Regions from separate parts of the Homo sapiens genome. Here regions 1 and 3 are each linked to region 2. The links are contacts of gene promoters, found by promoter capture Hi-C in human tissues and cell types (Jung and others, 2019). All regions are on one chromosome and are shown on one strand. Each heading gives the region's core, a stretch centred on a gene start or on the middle of the fragment in contact. The rest is flanking DNA. Distances are from core to core; before and after follow the strand shown.

What was found. Contacts are between HindIII fragments. The study calls those that stand out against the background at their distance.
Region 1: the fragment with the promoter of TRIP6 here is called in contact with the fragment with the promoter of PCOLCE in region 2 in 1 of the 25 tissues and cell types used here (IMR-90 fibroblasts).
Region 3: a contact is called between a fragment that was not itself captured here and the fragment with the promoter of PCOLCE in region 2, in 2 of the 25 tissues and cell types used here (IMR-90 fibroblasts and spleen).

What each region holds. Positions count from the first base shown.
Region 1 is chr7:100,864,563-100,869,137 of GRCh38, forward strand. It overlaps TRIP6 (thyroid hormone receptor interactor 6), which reads left to right and starts at 2,825. Exons shown (of 9, transcript NM_003302.3): 1 at 2,825-3,044; 2 at 3,299-3,426; 3 at 3,546-3,671; 4 at 3,933-4,304. The coding sequence starts at 2,936. It overlaps SLC12A9 (solute carrier family 12 member 9), which reads left to right. Exons shown (of 14, transcript NM_020246.4): 14 at 1,157-2,448. The coding sequence ends at 2,043. It overlaps MIR6875 (microRNA 6875), which reads left to right and starts at 3,474; the gene lies at 3,474-3,545. RefSeq lists silencers at 2,473-2,562, 2,923-3,072 and an enhancer at 3,513-3,612. The HindIII fragment of the contact is 16,493 bases long and covers 1-4,575 here.
Region 2 is chr7:100,599,569-100,604,064 of GRCh38, forward strand. It overlaps PCOLCE (procollagen C-endopeptidase enhancer), which reads left to right and starts at 2,795. Exons shown (of 9, transcript NM_002593.4): 1 at 2,795-2,983; 2 at 3,862-3,970; 3 at 4,391-4,496. The coding sequence starts at 2,889. It overlaps FBXO24 (F-box protein 24), which reads left to right. Exons shown (of 10, transcript NM_033506.3): 9 at 463-633; 10 at 966-1,549. The coding sequence ends at 1,331. It overlaps PCOLCE-AS1 (PCOLCE antisense RNA 1), which reads right to left and starts at 4,470. Exons shown (of 9, transcript NR_038910.1): 1 at 4,270-4,470; 2 at 2,772-3,598; 3 at 2,052-2,115; 4 at 1,155-1,284; 5 at 472-621; 6 at 103-234. RefSeq lists an enhancer at 3,904-4,496. The HindIII fragment of the contact is 8,861 bases long and covers 475-4,496 here.
Region 3 is chr7:100,881,205-100,886,094 of GRCh38, forward strand. It overlaps SRRT (serrate, RNA effector molecule), which reads left to right. Exons shown (of 20, transcript NM_015908.6): 3 at 81-209; 4 at 455-601; 5 at 849-1,037; 6 at 2,866-3,035; 7 at 3,164-3,348; 8 at 3,536-3,634; 9 at 3,719-3,836; 10 at 4,009-4,166; 11 at 4,497-4,558; 12 at 4,659-4,737. Among named protein-coding and RNA genes, the nearest start is that of UFSP1, 6.1 kb to the right of the region's middle. RefSeq lists enhancers at 1-576, 4,600-4,890. The HindIII fragment of the contact is 4,538 bases long and covers 1,032-4,890 here.

The DNA.
Region 1 (4,575 bases), core at 1,575-4,074, 270 kb after region 2:
TGTTCAAAAATTAAGAACGAAGAGCTTGTCAGCAGGGACTTGGAGCATTGTGGTTGCCACGTGCCCAGCTCGGTGGCTCAGAGTGTGGCCTCTCACGCTGGATGGAGGCGGATTGCGTTGACCTACCTGCCCCAGTACCTACCAGATATGAGCCTATGGGCAAGTGACTTCATCCCTTGGTGCTTTGGGCTCCTTATCAGTAAAAAGAGGAGACTAAATATTACCTACCTCATAGCATTACTTCGAGTTTCAAATAAGTTAAAATATAAAGTGCTTTCTACAGGACATAGCCCCTGGTAAGCGGATACCATGCAATGAACCACCATGATTAGGGTTTTGGTAAAACCTACTAGGGTTAGGGTTTACTGCAGTAAACATACGGGGTAGCCCTGTTTCTTTTTTTCTTTTTTTTTGAGATGGAGTCTCGCTCTGTTGCCCAGGCTGGAGTGCAGTGGCGTGATCTCGGCTTACTACAACCACCACCTTCCGGGTTCAGGCAATTCTCATGTCTCAGCCTCCTGAGTAGCTGGGATTATAGATGCCCACCACAATGCCCGGCTAATTTTTGTATTTTTAGTAGAGATAGCATTTCACCGTATTGGCCAGGCTGGTCTCAAACTCCTGATCTCAGGTGATCAACGTGCCTCAGCTTCCCAAGATGCTGCGATTACAGGTGTGAGCCACGGTGCCCTGCCTGGTCCATTTTTTCATCTTCCCATTGCAGAGTCTGGGACGCTATTACCCTGGGGATTCAGGTCATGAGCTTGGCTGATCAGGGTGTCTGGTTTGCACAACAGAGTCAAACTCGCATCCCCTGCCGTGAAACAGATGCCCCGCTAGAAGCCGGGAGTGGACAGCATCCTCCTCTCCATAGAATTGGAGTGCTCATTAGTGGCAAGAATCCTAAGGCGAACTTTGCCTGTTTAAGTGGAGGAGATTAGTCACTGAGATAATAAAATAAATGCATGTGAAAGTGTTTAGGAAAAATGAAAAGTCTTTATGCAAATATGCAGAATGTTGCCGTAAGAGCCCGTACACAGTGGGAATGTCATACCTATGGCTGACGCACCTTGCTGTCAGTGTGTGGGAGCGTGGTGTAAACTTAGCCTGTGAGCCTGACTCCTGTCTGTTCCTGCCTTCCCCGCTCTGCCCCCAGGTGGCATGAAGCCCAACACGTTGGTCCTAGGTTTCTACGATGACGCTCCACCGCAGGACCATTTCCTGACGGACCCGGCTTTCTCTGAGCCTGCAGACAGCACCAGGGAGGGCAGTTCCCCAGCTCTGAGCACCCTGTTCCCTCCTCCCCGGGCTCCTGGGAGCCCCCGGGCCCTCAATCCCCAGGACTATGTGGCCACGGTGGCCGACGCCCTCAAGATGAACAAGAATGTGGTGCTGGCCCGGGCCAGCGGGGCCTTGCCCCCTGAGCGGCTGAGCCGGGGGTCTGGGGGCACCTCTCAGCTGCACCATGTGGACGTGTGGCCCCTCAACCTGCTGCGGCCCCGGGGTGGGCCCGGCTATGTGGATGTCTGCGGCCTCTTCCTGCTGCAGATGGCAACCATCTTGGGCATGGTGCCCGCTTGGCATAGCGCCCGGCTCCGGATCTTCCTGTGCCTGGGGCCTCGGGAGGCGCCTGGGGCGGCCGAGGGGCGGCTGCGGGCACTGCTGAGCCAACTGAGGATCCGGGCTGAGGTGCAGGAGGTGGTGTGGGGCGAGGGGGCCGGGGCTGGGGAACCCGAGGCGGAGGAGGAAGGGGACTTTGTGAACAGTGGGCGGGGAGACGCAGAGGCAGAGGCCCTGGCACGCAGCGCCAACGCCCTGGTTCGGGCCCAGCAGGGGCGCGGCACAGGAGGAGGGCCGGGTGGGCCGGAGGGTGGGGATGCTGAGGGCCCCATCACAGCCCTCACCTTCCTGTACTTGCCTCGGCCGCCAGCCGATCCCGCCCGATACCCCCGCTACCTGGCGCTACTGGAGACTCTAACCCGAGACCTGGGCCCCACGCTGCTGGTTCATGGGGTCACTCCAGTCACCTGCACTGATCTGTGATGCCCCTGCCTCCAGGGCTAGGTAGAGAGGGCCCAGGCAGGCGGCCTATCCTGATCCTTGGAGGAGGAGGAAGAGGAGGCCACTGTGGCCCGTGGCCCTGCCCTTGGGACGTGGAGCCCAGGGGAGGTTTGAAGGGGATCCTGGGCTTGGGCATCACGCCCACCTCCTTTGGCAGAGGGACCCCAGCACACTAACTCTGGGTGGCTGTCCCCACCGTGCAGGGGAGGGAGTCCGCAGCCTCCCTTCACTGGTGCCTTGATGCTAGGGGCCAGGCCTCCTCTGTGACTCTGGGCTACCTCAGTTTCCCCATTTTGGCCAGACTCACCGGCCCACTGGGGTGGTGATGTTTTCGTTCTGTTTTATTTTTCTAACTCTGCTGACCATGAATAAAAGACCAAAACACTACAGGCTGGCTGAGCAGTGCTGGTGGGTAGCTGAGAGGGAGGGGGTGGGAATGGAGAGCTCTGCAGAGGGGTGGAGATCGGAGCCTTCAGCCTCCCGCCGCGAGGCTGCCACGTGCAGGGCTGGGGTGCGGGGCCCGGACGCATCCGTGGACTTGGAGGCTGGCTCGGGCCCGCACCTCCCATCCCCAGCTGCCCGCAACCCCCAGTGACTCGGGATCCCCCGGAGAGCCCTCCCCTCTCGGCAGGAGGGGGCTGACTCAGGGAGAAATGGCAGTTTAGGGCCTAGGGGGCCACGTGACCCTCCCCCAGGAATGTGGTGACGTCATCGGAGGCGTGGTCGTCCCCAAAATTAGGGAGGAAGAGGAAAAAAAAAAGCCAGAAAAAGTTTTCTTTTCTGGAGTCCCAAACGAGGTGCGGGACGGAAGAGGGGGTGAAGGCCAGAGGCTCGGGGCTTCAAGACCGCTGTCTGGAGTCCCCCTTTCCAGGCCATGTCGGGGCCCACCTGGCTGCCCCCGAAGCAGCCGGAGCCCGCCAGAGCCCCTCAGGGGAGGGCGATCCCCCGCGGCACCCCGGGGCCACCACCGGCCCACGGAGCAGGTAAGGCAGCCCTTGTGAGACAGAAGAGCCACCCAGCTGTGGCGCTCACCTCTGTCCTACCGCTCCAGCCTCCCGCCCTGGCTGCTTCCTCCTGCCCCTTCCCCAAGCCGAGGCGGGGGGAACAGCCGCCTGCGCTCTCTTGGGACCCTAGATTTGGGGGAGGAGGTAACGAGAGGCGGAGAGGGTGGCTCCTCAAATATACACCCCTCCTGTCCTCCGCCACCCCACCTTTGATTTCTCTTCCCTCAACCCAGCACTCCAGCCCCACCCCAGGGTCAATTTTTGCCCCCTTCCATCTGAGCAGTGTTACCAGGCCCCAGGGGGACCGGAGGATCGGGGGCCGGCGTGGGTGGGGTCCCATGGAGTACTCCAGCACACGCAGGTGAGACCCGGGATCGTGGGGTGGGACATGTGGGATCCCCCAGAACCGAGTCTGAGGGACCCAGGACAGGAGAAGGCCTATGGTGATTTGCATTCTTCCTGCCCTGGCTCCATCCTCAGGGGCTCCCTGCAGACAGGGGGGGCCTTCGCCCTGGAAGCCTGGACGCCGAGATAGACTTGCTGAGCAGCACGCTGGCCGAGCTGAATGGGGGTCGGGGTCATGCGTCACGGCGACCAGACCGACAGGTGACTCTGCCCCTCCTCCCCGTCAGCACCCTGCCCCCTTCTCTGGACTCTCAGACCCAGCCTGATCGATCCCCCATGTGTGTAATGTGCACCCCAGCATGGAGGAAGCGTGGCTGCAAGTACCAACATGTCAGCCACTTGAGGACGGGACCTTGTCAAATGCAAAAAGCCTGTGCTTCCCCACAGCCAGGGTCATTTCCACAAATGTGGGTCTTGGAGTGGGGTCCTTGCTTACGACTTCTGGCCTGCGTTTCTCCTCAGGCATATGAGCCCCCGCCACCTCCTGCCTACCGCACGGGCTCCCTGAAGCCAAATCCAGCCTCGCCGCTCCCAGCGTCTCCCTATGGGGGCCCCACTCCAGCCTCTTACACTACCGCCAGCACCCCGGCTGGCCCAGCCTTCCCCGTGCAAGTGAAGGTGGCACAGCCAGTGAGGGGCTGCGGCCCACCCAGGCGGGGAGCCTCTCAGGCCTCTGGGCCCCTCCCGGGCCCCCACTTTCCTCTCCCAGGCCGAGGTGAAGTCTGGGGGCCTGGCTATAGGAGCCAGAGAGAGCCAGGGCCAGGGGCCAAAGAGGAAGCTGCTGGGGTCTCTGGCCCTGCAGGAAGAGGAAGAGGAGGCGAGCACGGGCCCCAGGTGAGCCCTGGGGAACTGGGATTTCAGGCCCTACAGACAATGGGACACCGACTGGGTGGGGTGGCTGGTGGTGTTTTAGGGGGCTTTTTTGTTTTTTGAGACAGAGTTTTGCTCTTGTTTGCCCAGGCTGGGGTGCAGTGGTGCCATCTTGGCTCACTGCAACCTCTGCCTCCCGGGTTCAAGTGATTCTCCTGCCTCAGCCTCCTGAATAACTGGATTACAGGCACACGCTGCCACGCTTGGTTAATTTTTGTATTTTTAGTACAGACGG
Region 2 (4,496 bases), core at 1,545-4,044:
AAAAAAAAAAAAAGAAAGAAAGAAAGAAAAGATAATACTAGAGCAGGAAGGGAGGGATAGTGGAAGGGAAAGTCCTTCCTCAGGGTGGTGTTGGGGTCTAACCTGGAATTGCACAAGAAGCAAGTCTCCCCGAGGCTGGCAGGCAGGATGAGAGGCTGGACTGGCATAGACGGGTGGGCTGAGAATGAGGGGTACACCACAGCAGGCCCTGGGCTCAGGCAAGGAGCTGATTTTCTGGGGGCATAGATGAGATACCAACAGAAGTGCAAGACCCTATGTGACCAGTTAGAGTATGGGGGCTGCAGGGGTCAGCAGGGCAGACCTGGGGCGTGGGACAGTGCTGGCTCCCATTTCCTCCTCCCCAGTTCATTCTGCCCCGAGCCTTCCAGTCAACCTTTTCCCACCCCAGCCCCCCCGTCCCTTGGTGCTCCCTGCTCAGGGACCCTGGCCGTGTGTCCCCAGGTTTGTTACCTGCAGCGGCCCATCACCCTGTGGTGCGGCCTCAACCACTCCCTGGTGCTGAGCCAGAGCTCAGAGTTCAGCAAGGAGCTGCTGGGCTGCGGCTGTGGGGCTGGGGGCCGCCTCCCAGGCTGGCCCAAGGGGAGTGCCTCCTTCGTCAAGCTCCAAGTCAAGGTCAGAGCGGGGTCAGGAGAGTGGGCACCCAGGGAGGATGAGAGCCATGAACCAGGAAGCCCACAGGCTGTAGCTGGGGCTCCTGCAGGGACCCAGGGGGTCCCATTTCCCTAGCACCACCCCACCTCCCTCCTCTGCCGCACACCACGCTCTCTGCTTTCTCCCTTAGCAGACTGTGCTGGCCTTGCCCAACCTCACACACCCCTGGGACTTAGCCGGCTCAGGGCTGGTGTGAGAGGGAAGAATGCAATAGGCAGATTAGCCCGGGCACCCTGGGAAACCCTGCAAGGAAAGCACCACTCAGCCATGCCCCCTTTCTCTCCTCCTCCAAGGTCCCTCTGTGTGCCTGTGCCCTCTGTGCCACCAGGGAGTGCCTATACATCCTGTCCAGCCACGACATTGAGCAGCACGCCCCCTATCGCCACCTGCCAGCCAGCAGGGTGGTGGGGACTCCTGAGCCCAGCCTGGGGGCCAGAGCACCCCAGGACCCCGGGGGGATGGCCCAGGCCTGCGAGGAGTACCTCAGCCAGATCCACAGTTGCCAAACGTTGCAGGACCGCACGGAGAAGATGAAGGAGATCGTAGGGTGGATGCCCCTGATGGCCGCACAGAAGGACTTCTTCTGGGAGGCCCTGGACATGCTGCAGAGGGCTGAAGGAGGCGGGGGTGGTGTAGGGCCCCCAGCCCCTGAGACCTAATCCCCCTCATGCTAGCCTAGTCCCTGGAGGAGGGAGTCCGGCCCCAGGCCAGGGACTAAGGAGCAATGACCATTGTGCACATGCGTGTGGGAAGGGGTTGCTAGGGGGTGGGGACGGCTAACCAGGGTAAGAATGTTCAGGGGGCTGCCCAGGAGGGGCCCCCAACCTGACTATCATGGACAAGAGATTTGATGGATAGAATAAAAGGCTGCAGCGAGGCCTGGTGTGGAAGCCTTGGGGGCTGGGAGGGACAGGGGCAGGGATGGGGTGGGTGGGTGCCCGGCTTGGTGGGTGCAGGAGGGCAGGAGCCCAGGCAGGGGCAGGCAGCACAAGCAGCTCCAGGTCTCAGGTGCAGCAGAGCTGATGCTGCCTGAACCCTTCACATTGTTGTCCACTCCCTGCTCCCAAGAGCACACCTGGTCGTTTGGACTGGGAAGTTCTGGCCCTACCTTCTGGAACAACTCTATGCACAGATGCTCTTGGCTACCCCACTGGGATCCCCTGCCCACTAGACTTGTCCCCATCCTGAGGCAGCCTGTTCCTCCTGACCCCCGAAAGCTTCCCACCCATCTCCCTTCGGCCTGAAGCCAGCCCCCCTCCTCTCTCCCTTCTGTTTACCTCCCAGGTTTGGGCTCTATTTTCTACTCCTTCCACCTCTTCCTGAGTAACAAGGACACTCCCTTCATCCACACCCCATGCCTCCTGCCTTGCTTCCTGTACCTTCAAGTAGTTGGAAGAGGTCATGGGTGAGAATTCCTTCTCCTTGGCCTAGTCTGGCCCAGGTCTGGAGAGAAGGCAATGGAGATGTGAAGTGGAGGCCAGGTGTGGTGGCTACGCCTATAATCCCAGCACTTTGGGAGTCCGAGGTGGGCGGATCACCTGAGGCTAGGAATTTGAGACCAGCCTGGACAGCATGCTGAAACCCTGCCTCTACTAAAAATACAAAAATTAGCCAGGTGTGGAGGCATGCACCTGCAGTCCCAGCTACTCGGGAGGCTAAGGCACAAGAATTGCTTGAACCCGGGAGGCGGAGGTTGCAGTGAGCAGAGATCGCGCCACTGCACTCCAGCCTGGGTCACAGAATGAGACTCTGTCTCAAAAAAAAAAAAAAAAAAAAAAAGAAATTGAAGTGGAAAATGAGCTGGCAGGGGTGGTCAGGCAGGGGGTGAGCAATGAGGGCTCCTGAGCTGAGGAAGCAGGGGCGGGGGGAGGATGGGGGCTAGGGAGTCCTCAGAAGTTCCCGGAGATACTCCCTCACTGGACAGAGTGGGGTTCCCGATGACGTTACTTGAGGCCTGGGAGACGGCCTCTGCCCCTCACTGCTCCTCCCCCTCCTAAGGTCAACATTTATGTGTCCTAGACCTAGAGAGGTCCCAGGACACGCCACTGTCCCGCCTTCCCCATTGCCCGCCCCACTGGCCAGTCCCCACGCCCACACACCCAAGGCTGCCCCATCTGGCGCTGATTATCCTGCTGCTGCCGCCACCGCTGCTGCTGCTCTGCAAAATTCAGCTGCTGCCTCTGTCTTGAGGACCCCAGCGCCTTTCCCCCGGGGCCATGCTGCCTGCAGCCACAGCCTCCCTCCTGGGGCCCCTCCTCACTGCCTGCGCCCTGCTGCCTTTTGCCCAGGGCCAGACCCCCAACTACACCAGGTAGGTCTCTTGGCATCTTCCAGACAGCTCCAGTGAACTTCAGACCCCCGATTCCTTTGGGGTTATGCCTGGAGATATTTTGGGTTCCCTTGCTGACACACCACTCCCCAGATTCCCCACCGCCTCACCCTTCTCTGGCCCCCAAATCCTCCCCATCTGCTGCAAGACCTTGGTCTCCTGCAGGCCACCACTGCTCCCATTCCCCCACCTTCGTCCTCTGGTCTCTTAAGTCTCCCCACCCACCCAGATCCTTGACCCCCCATAGAACCCAAGAGAGAGCCAAGCTCCTGAACTTGCCTGGTAGCTGGATTCCAGGAAGGAATTCGAGAGGGATTGTAGGGGGAGGAGGGGGCAGTGAGTGGAGACTTGGGAGTCAGAATCTGAAGTAGTTTGGAACAGGGGCAGGGCTAAGGTGTGGAGCTCGCGGAGCCTGGCCTCCAGGTTCAATCAGAGGGCCATCGCCACTGCAGCTCCCTCCATCTCTCCACCCCCTCCCCCCCACCGCCTCGTGGCTGTGTCCACATCTGGAAGTAGTTAGGCGGCTCCTGTCCCTGGACTGCCAGGCAGAGTGAGGCGGGAGTCTGGAAGGGGGGCCGAGGAGGATTCCGGGAATTCCTGTTGGGGTGGGGGTGGGGACTCTTGGGGTTGGAGGGATGGTCGAGTTGCCAGGCCCACTTTTCCCTTATCTTTGTGGGAGTCTGGGACACCCCAGCCCTGTCCTGGCTGGTGGAAGCTGCCCCAGGTCTCTCAAGGCCTTTCCATTTCATCCCCCAGCTTCCCTCCTTGGAGTTTCATCCTCATCACCTCATCCCCATCTTGCCAGTGCTCCCCCGTCCCACCCGTCCCTGCTCTTTCCTGACCCCTTTTCTGTTCTCCAGACCCGTGTTCCTGTGCGGAGGGGATGTGAAGGGGGAATCAGGTTACGTGGCAAGTGAGGGGTTCCCCAACCTCTACCCCCCTAATAAGGAGTGCATCTGGACCATAACGGTGAGAAACCCCTCTGGGCACTACCCCTTGTTAAAGTCTCAGAGGCAAAAAGGCCTGACTGCGAAGGGACCCCCCCCCCGTCCCCCCCGCACCACCTTCTCAACCTGGGGCAGCTCCAAGTGTCTTCCCTCTGTCACTGAAGGCATCATTCCCACCGTAACACGCATCATCTTAACCCTTCCCTCAAATCTTCATTCTCCAGTCCCCGGCCCTCCCTCCTCTTCCAAAGCCTCAGCTCTTGTCCCCTGCACAGGCTACCAGCAGAGCTGCAGAGACCAGGCCCTCTGCTCTGCACTCACATGGAGGCCCCTTCCCATTCAGTCCGTTTCTGCAAGAAACGCTTGGGGCAGGGGAGCTGCCCTCTGGCTGGGTTGTGTGGGGCCTGACTCTGTGGGTCCCCGCCTCTGTCCCCGCTATCAGGTCCCCGAGGGCCAGACTGTGTCCCTCTCATTCCGAGTCTTCGACCTGGAGCTGCACCCCGCCTGCCGCTACGATGCTCTGGAGGTCTTCGCTGGGTCTGGGACTT
Region 3 (4,890 bases), core at 2,051-4,550, 280 kb after region 2:
TCGGCCTCAAAAGTGCTTGGATTACAGGCATGAGCCACTGTGCCTGGCCTTTAATCTTTGTTACTTGTTCTTACTGCCAGAGAGTGGGACCGTGGCCGTGAGCGCCGTAGTCGGGGTGAATATCGGGACTATGACCGGAATCGGCGAGAGCGCTTCTCGCCACCTCGCCACGAACTCAGCCCGCCACAGAAGCGCATGAGGAGAGACTGGTGAGATGGAGCGGTTTCCCTCTCCTCCCCTTTGCCTCAGTTCCACCTGGGCCTCCCCTTTCTCCCCTCACCTGTGCCTAAATCTTTGTCATTTCCTTTTCTCAACTTCCCATCACCCATCGTTACTTTGTCCCTTGAAACCCTTGTCTGGGAGACCATGCTGTGTGTACCCCCGTCTGTCCATCCTCCATGCTCTGGGGAGGTGACTCCCTTCTCTGCTTTACTTTTGTGTCCCCCACCTTCAGGGATGAGCACAGCTCTGACCCATACCACAGTGGCTATGAGATGCCCTATGCTGGGGGGGGTGGGGGCCCAACTTATGGCCCCCCTCAGCCCTGGGGCCACCCTGACGTCCACATCATGCAGCACCATGTCCTGCCTATCCAGGCCAGGTAAGGGTGGGGCTTCTCAGAAGAGGGTTGGTAGGCCTGGGGGATGGATGGGGTTGCTGAAGGCCATGGCTGAAGCCAGGGAGCGGGTCAGGCACACAGAGGCATGTCCCTGGGGTAGGGGTGGTAGCTGTTGGGGTTTGGGGTGATGTCCATGGTGGACAAAGTAAAGGGGCCCCAGCTACTTTGGCCCCTGTAGCCTCCCACCGTTCCCCAAAAACCAAGCCTTCCTGACCGGGGTCCCCTCCAGGCTGGGCAGCATTGCAGAGATTGACCTGGGTGTGCCGCCGCCCGTGATGAAGACCTTCAAGGAGTTTCTCCTCTCCCTGGATGACTCGGTGGATGAGACGGAGGCCGTCAAGCGCTATAATGACTACAAGCTGGATTTCCGGAGGCAACAGATGCAGGATTTCTTCCTGGCGCACAAAGATGAGGAGTGGTGAGTGCCCCTACTTCCCTGGACCTCTGCCCTGGCATGTCCCCCTGGCCCCGCTGGTGGAGCCACAGCCCTGTCCTCTTCCCAGTTTTCCCTGTCCAGAACTTTCTGGGGGCGGGGGTCGGGAAGTATGACAGCATTGGCTGATGGGGTCTCCCCCTCACTTCAGCAACTGCCACGGCCCCCGCCCCGCCCTGTCTCCTGTCCTGCTGTCCTCAGAGAGTGGGACACCTCCAGGCAGCAGGCCAGAGCCACTTGGCCCCTTGGGGCAGCAGACAGACTGCTTCCCACTTGTTGGTGTTGGGTCATTGTCATCCCTGATCACCAGGACCCTGTGTGGCTGTGGCGTCCTCCTAAAGCGACGAGTGAATCCAGACAAGAAAAGCAAAGATCTCGGTCGTTTGACAGAAAAAGAATTTTAATTTTTTTTTCCTTTTGTGGATGTTTTAATTTTAATCAACCATCTTTTCCCCCCTTCCTGCTCCTCCTCCTCCTCATCCTCTTTCTGCTCCTCCTCCTTGAAAAGAGCCAGAACTGGGAACTACACCCGCTCATCGACGGAGCTCGGAGCAAACCCACCTCCACCCCCACCATACCCAGCCCATACATGAGCCCCTGGGCTGAGCTGCGCGGCCCCGGCCAGGCAGACAGGCCAGGGCACTGCTGTGCACAATGCAGCGGTTTAGCTGAATGTGATTGCTCAGGCAGCTAGCCAGTCAGGCCCCACTGCGGAGTCCCGCGTGGGCATCTCGGCCGGGCGCCCAGCCAGGAGCCAGCCGGTGGCCCACCAGCCAGCATGGGCCCTGGGCGCCGCTAGTTAAATCTTGAGCTCTGTTTGACCAAGCGGCCAAGGTAAAGATCCTGGAGGTGATGCCTGCGGCTTTCCTTTCCTCTTCTGCCCCACTCGTGGTTCTGTTCTGTCTTCGCTGTCCCCTCTCTCGAATTGCTCTGTGTCTTTGTCCTAATCTCTCAGCACCTTCATTCTTCTCTGTTTCTGTTCTTGCTCCCTGCCTAACACCACCTTCTTCCCTGTTGGTTTTTTTAGTTTCTCTCTCTGATCTTTAGTTTTTCCCTTTGTTTTCGGTTTCTGGGACTTTCTCACACTCTCCCCTTTCCTCCCTTTCCCCTTTTCCTCATACTCCTCATTTCTTCTGTTTTCCCTCTGAGGTCCTATTTGAAATGTTTTATTTTTCTTCTCCCTAACCTTCCAGCCCTCTCCTCTCTCTCCCCCTGTGGGCAGGACCTGAGGCTCTAAAGGGCACTCCAGTGTCTCCCTTCGGTCTTTCCTGTCCCTTCACCGTCTTGCTTATCTTCCCACGGGTGGAGAAAGGTGCCCTGCCTCTGGGCTTTTGCTATCTGGCCCTCTGTCTTCCACCTCGGGGTGGAGGGAGTTGGCGGGAGCAGTTTTTGAATGACTGCAGTTTGGGGTTGGTGAGGAGAGGGAGGTTCTTCAGGGCCTGCTATTTCCTGAGCCTTCCTCTCTGAAGCTTTGGGAAATGACACCTTTTTACTACGTTAGTGTTTCCCAGAGATTTAAAGTGGTAAATCTGCCTCTCCTACCCTGGCGTCCCCCTGTAGTCATTGGTCTTCCCAAATCCAGAGCTCTTAGTTCCTGGTTCTCCCCCAAATCTTCACAGAACACAACTTCTGGTTCCTTTTGGGGTGTTGGGTGGTTCTAGCGCACCCCTATCCCTTAATCTCTCTATTTTGATGACCTTTTGTGGTTGTGAGAGGAAGGGGGATATGCCCTGTCTTTCCTGGGCCCCTTCCCACATCCTGGCCTTGGCTTCCAATAACTGTTTTGTCTTTCCCTCCCCCGCTTCGTTCCCAGGTTTCGGTCTAAGTACCACCCAGATGAGGTGGGGAAGCGTCGGCAGGAGGCCCGGGGGGCCCTGCAAAACCGACTGAGGGTCTTCCTGTCCCTCATGGAGACTGGCTGGTTTGATAACCTTCTCCTGGACATAGACAAAGCTGATGCCATTGTCAAGATGCTGGATGCAGGTGTGCGGATTTGGAGGGGTGGCAGGCATCTGGGCCCCATGGGGGTGGGGGTGTCTGGGGATCAGGTAGAAGCCGGTTGACAGGAGCCAGGGCCCTGGGGTCATGACCTCTGTTCCCTTTGTTGGTAGCCGTGATTAAGATGGAAGGAGGCACGGAGAATGATCTTCGCATCCTGGAGCAGGAGGAGGAGGAGGAGCAGGCAGGAAAGCCTGGGGAGCCCAGCAAGAAAGAAGAAGGACGGGCTGGAGCAGGCCTAGGGGACGGGGAGCGCAAAACCAACGACAAGGATGAGAAGAAGGAAGACGGCAAGCAGGTCCGAGCCCTGGGTCTCCTAGTGTTGTCCCTGGCAGCCTGGGGGAGGGGGGCGGGTAGGGGTCCATAGGAGCTAGAAGTAGGGGGCTGGGGAAAATGAACCTGTGGCCTCAGCTGTGGGGGTGGGGGCCCTCTGATAAAGGTGGGAGGGGAGGTTTGACATCCCCAGTGGTTGTCTCTTACCATAGGCTGAGAATGACAGTTCTAATGATGACAAAACAAAGAAGTCGGAGGGTGATGGGGACAAGGAAGAGAAGAAAGAAGACTCCGAGAAGGAAGCCAAAAAGGTGAGGTGTCTGTGGCCTGGGGTCAGAGTGTTGGGGCTGGGGTTCTGGCACGCTGACTTGTCCCCTCTGCTGTGGCTCACACAGAGTAGCAAGAAGCGGAACCGGAAGCACAGTGGTGACGACAGCTTTGACGAGGGCAGCGTGTCAGAGTCTGAGTCGGAGTCAGAGAGCGGCCAGGCTGAGGAGGAGAAGGAGGAGGCCGGTAGGGTTTCTTTTCTGCTTTAAAGTGCGTTCTCCTAATGCGGGTGGGGAGGTGAGAGGTTGGCGACATTGACGGGAGGGTGGGTGGCTTTTAGGGGAAAGCTTCTGTATCCTCCCCACCACAATCAGTAATAAAAATGCACCAACTCCTTCCTACCCCCCTTCCTGCCTAGAAGAAGCGCTCAAGGAGAAGGAGAAGCCCAAGGAAGAAGAATGGGAGAAGCCCAAGGACGCCGCGGGGCTGGAGTGCAAGCCGCGGCCGCTGCATAAGACCTGCTCCCTCTTCATGCGCAACATCGCGCCCAACATCTCCCGGGCCGAGATCATCTCCGTGAGTGGGGACCCGTGGAGTCAGGGCAGGGCTGATGGAGAAGTGGAGGGTAGAGGGAAGGCAGTGGGGCCCTGCCTGTGACAGATGCCCCCGTTTCACCTGCTAGGGAGGCCCCTTCCCCAGGTTCCATGGCCTCCGAGGACTAGTCCTGATAGCGCCATTGGCTTTCAGGTGCTGGTGTTCTGAAGCCCTTTAGTGGTTTTTCCCTGCCCAAGGATGGGAAGAGTGATAAGGCAGTTAGTCCCTAGGGTTCTGAGGGCAGTGGGGGATTGGAGGAAGAAGCGAATGAATCCTTGAGTCACTGTGGGGCTGCTTTTCTGCTTCTTGCAGCTTTGTAAAAGGTACCCAGGCTTTATGCGGGTGGCGCTCTCAGAGCCCCAGCCAGAGAGGAGGTGAGTAACTCGGTGCGTTGGAGGGAAAAGTGCAGGGGAACGTTAATGGCCAACACCAACTCCCTCGCTTGACTATGCTAACATTTTCTTTCTTGTGTAGGTTTTTCCGTCGTGGCTGGGTGACCTTCGACCGCAGTGTTAACATTAAAGAGATCTGTTGGAACCTGCAGAACATCCGTGTGAGTGCTGGGGGTGGGACTGTGGGGAAGAGGAAGGGAGACTCTGTGCCACACGGGACCTCTGTGTGACTTTGTTCATCTGATAGTTTGGTTGTTCTGCACACTCTTTGACCGTTTTGTCTGGCTACGTTGTCTCTGGGCAAGGCTCTAGGG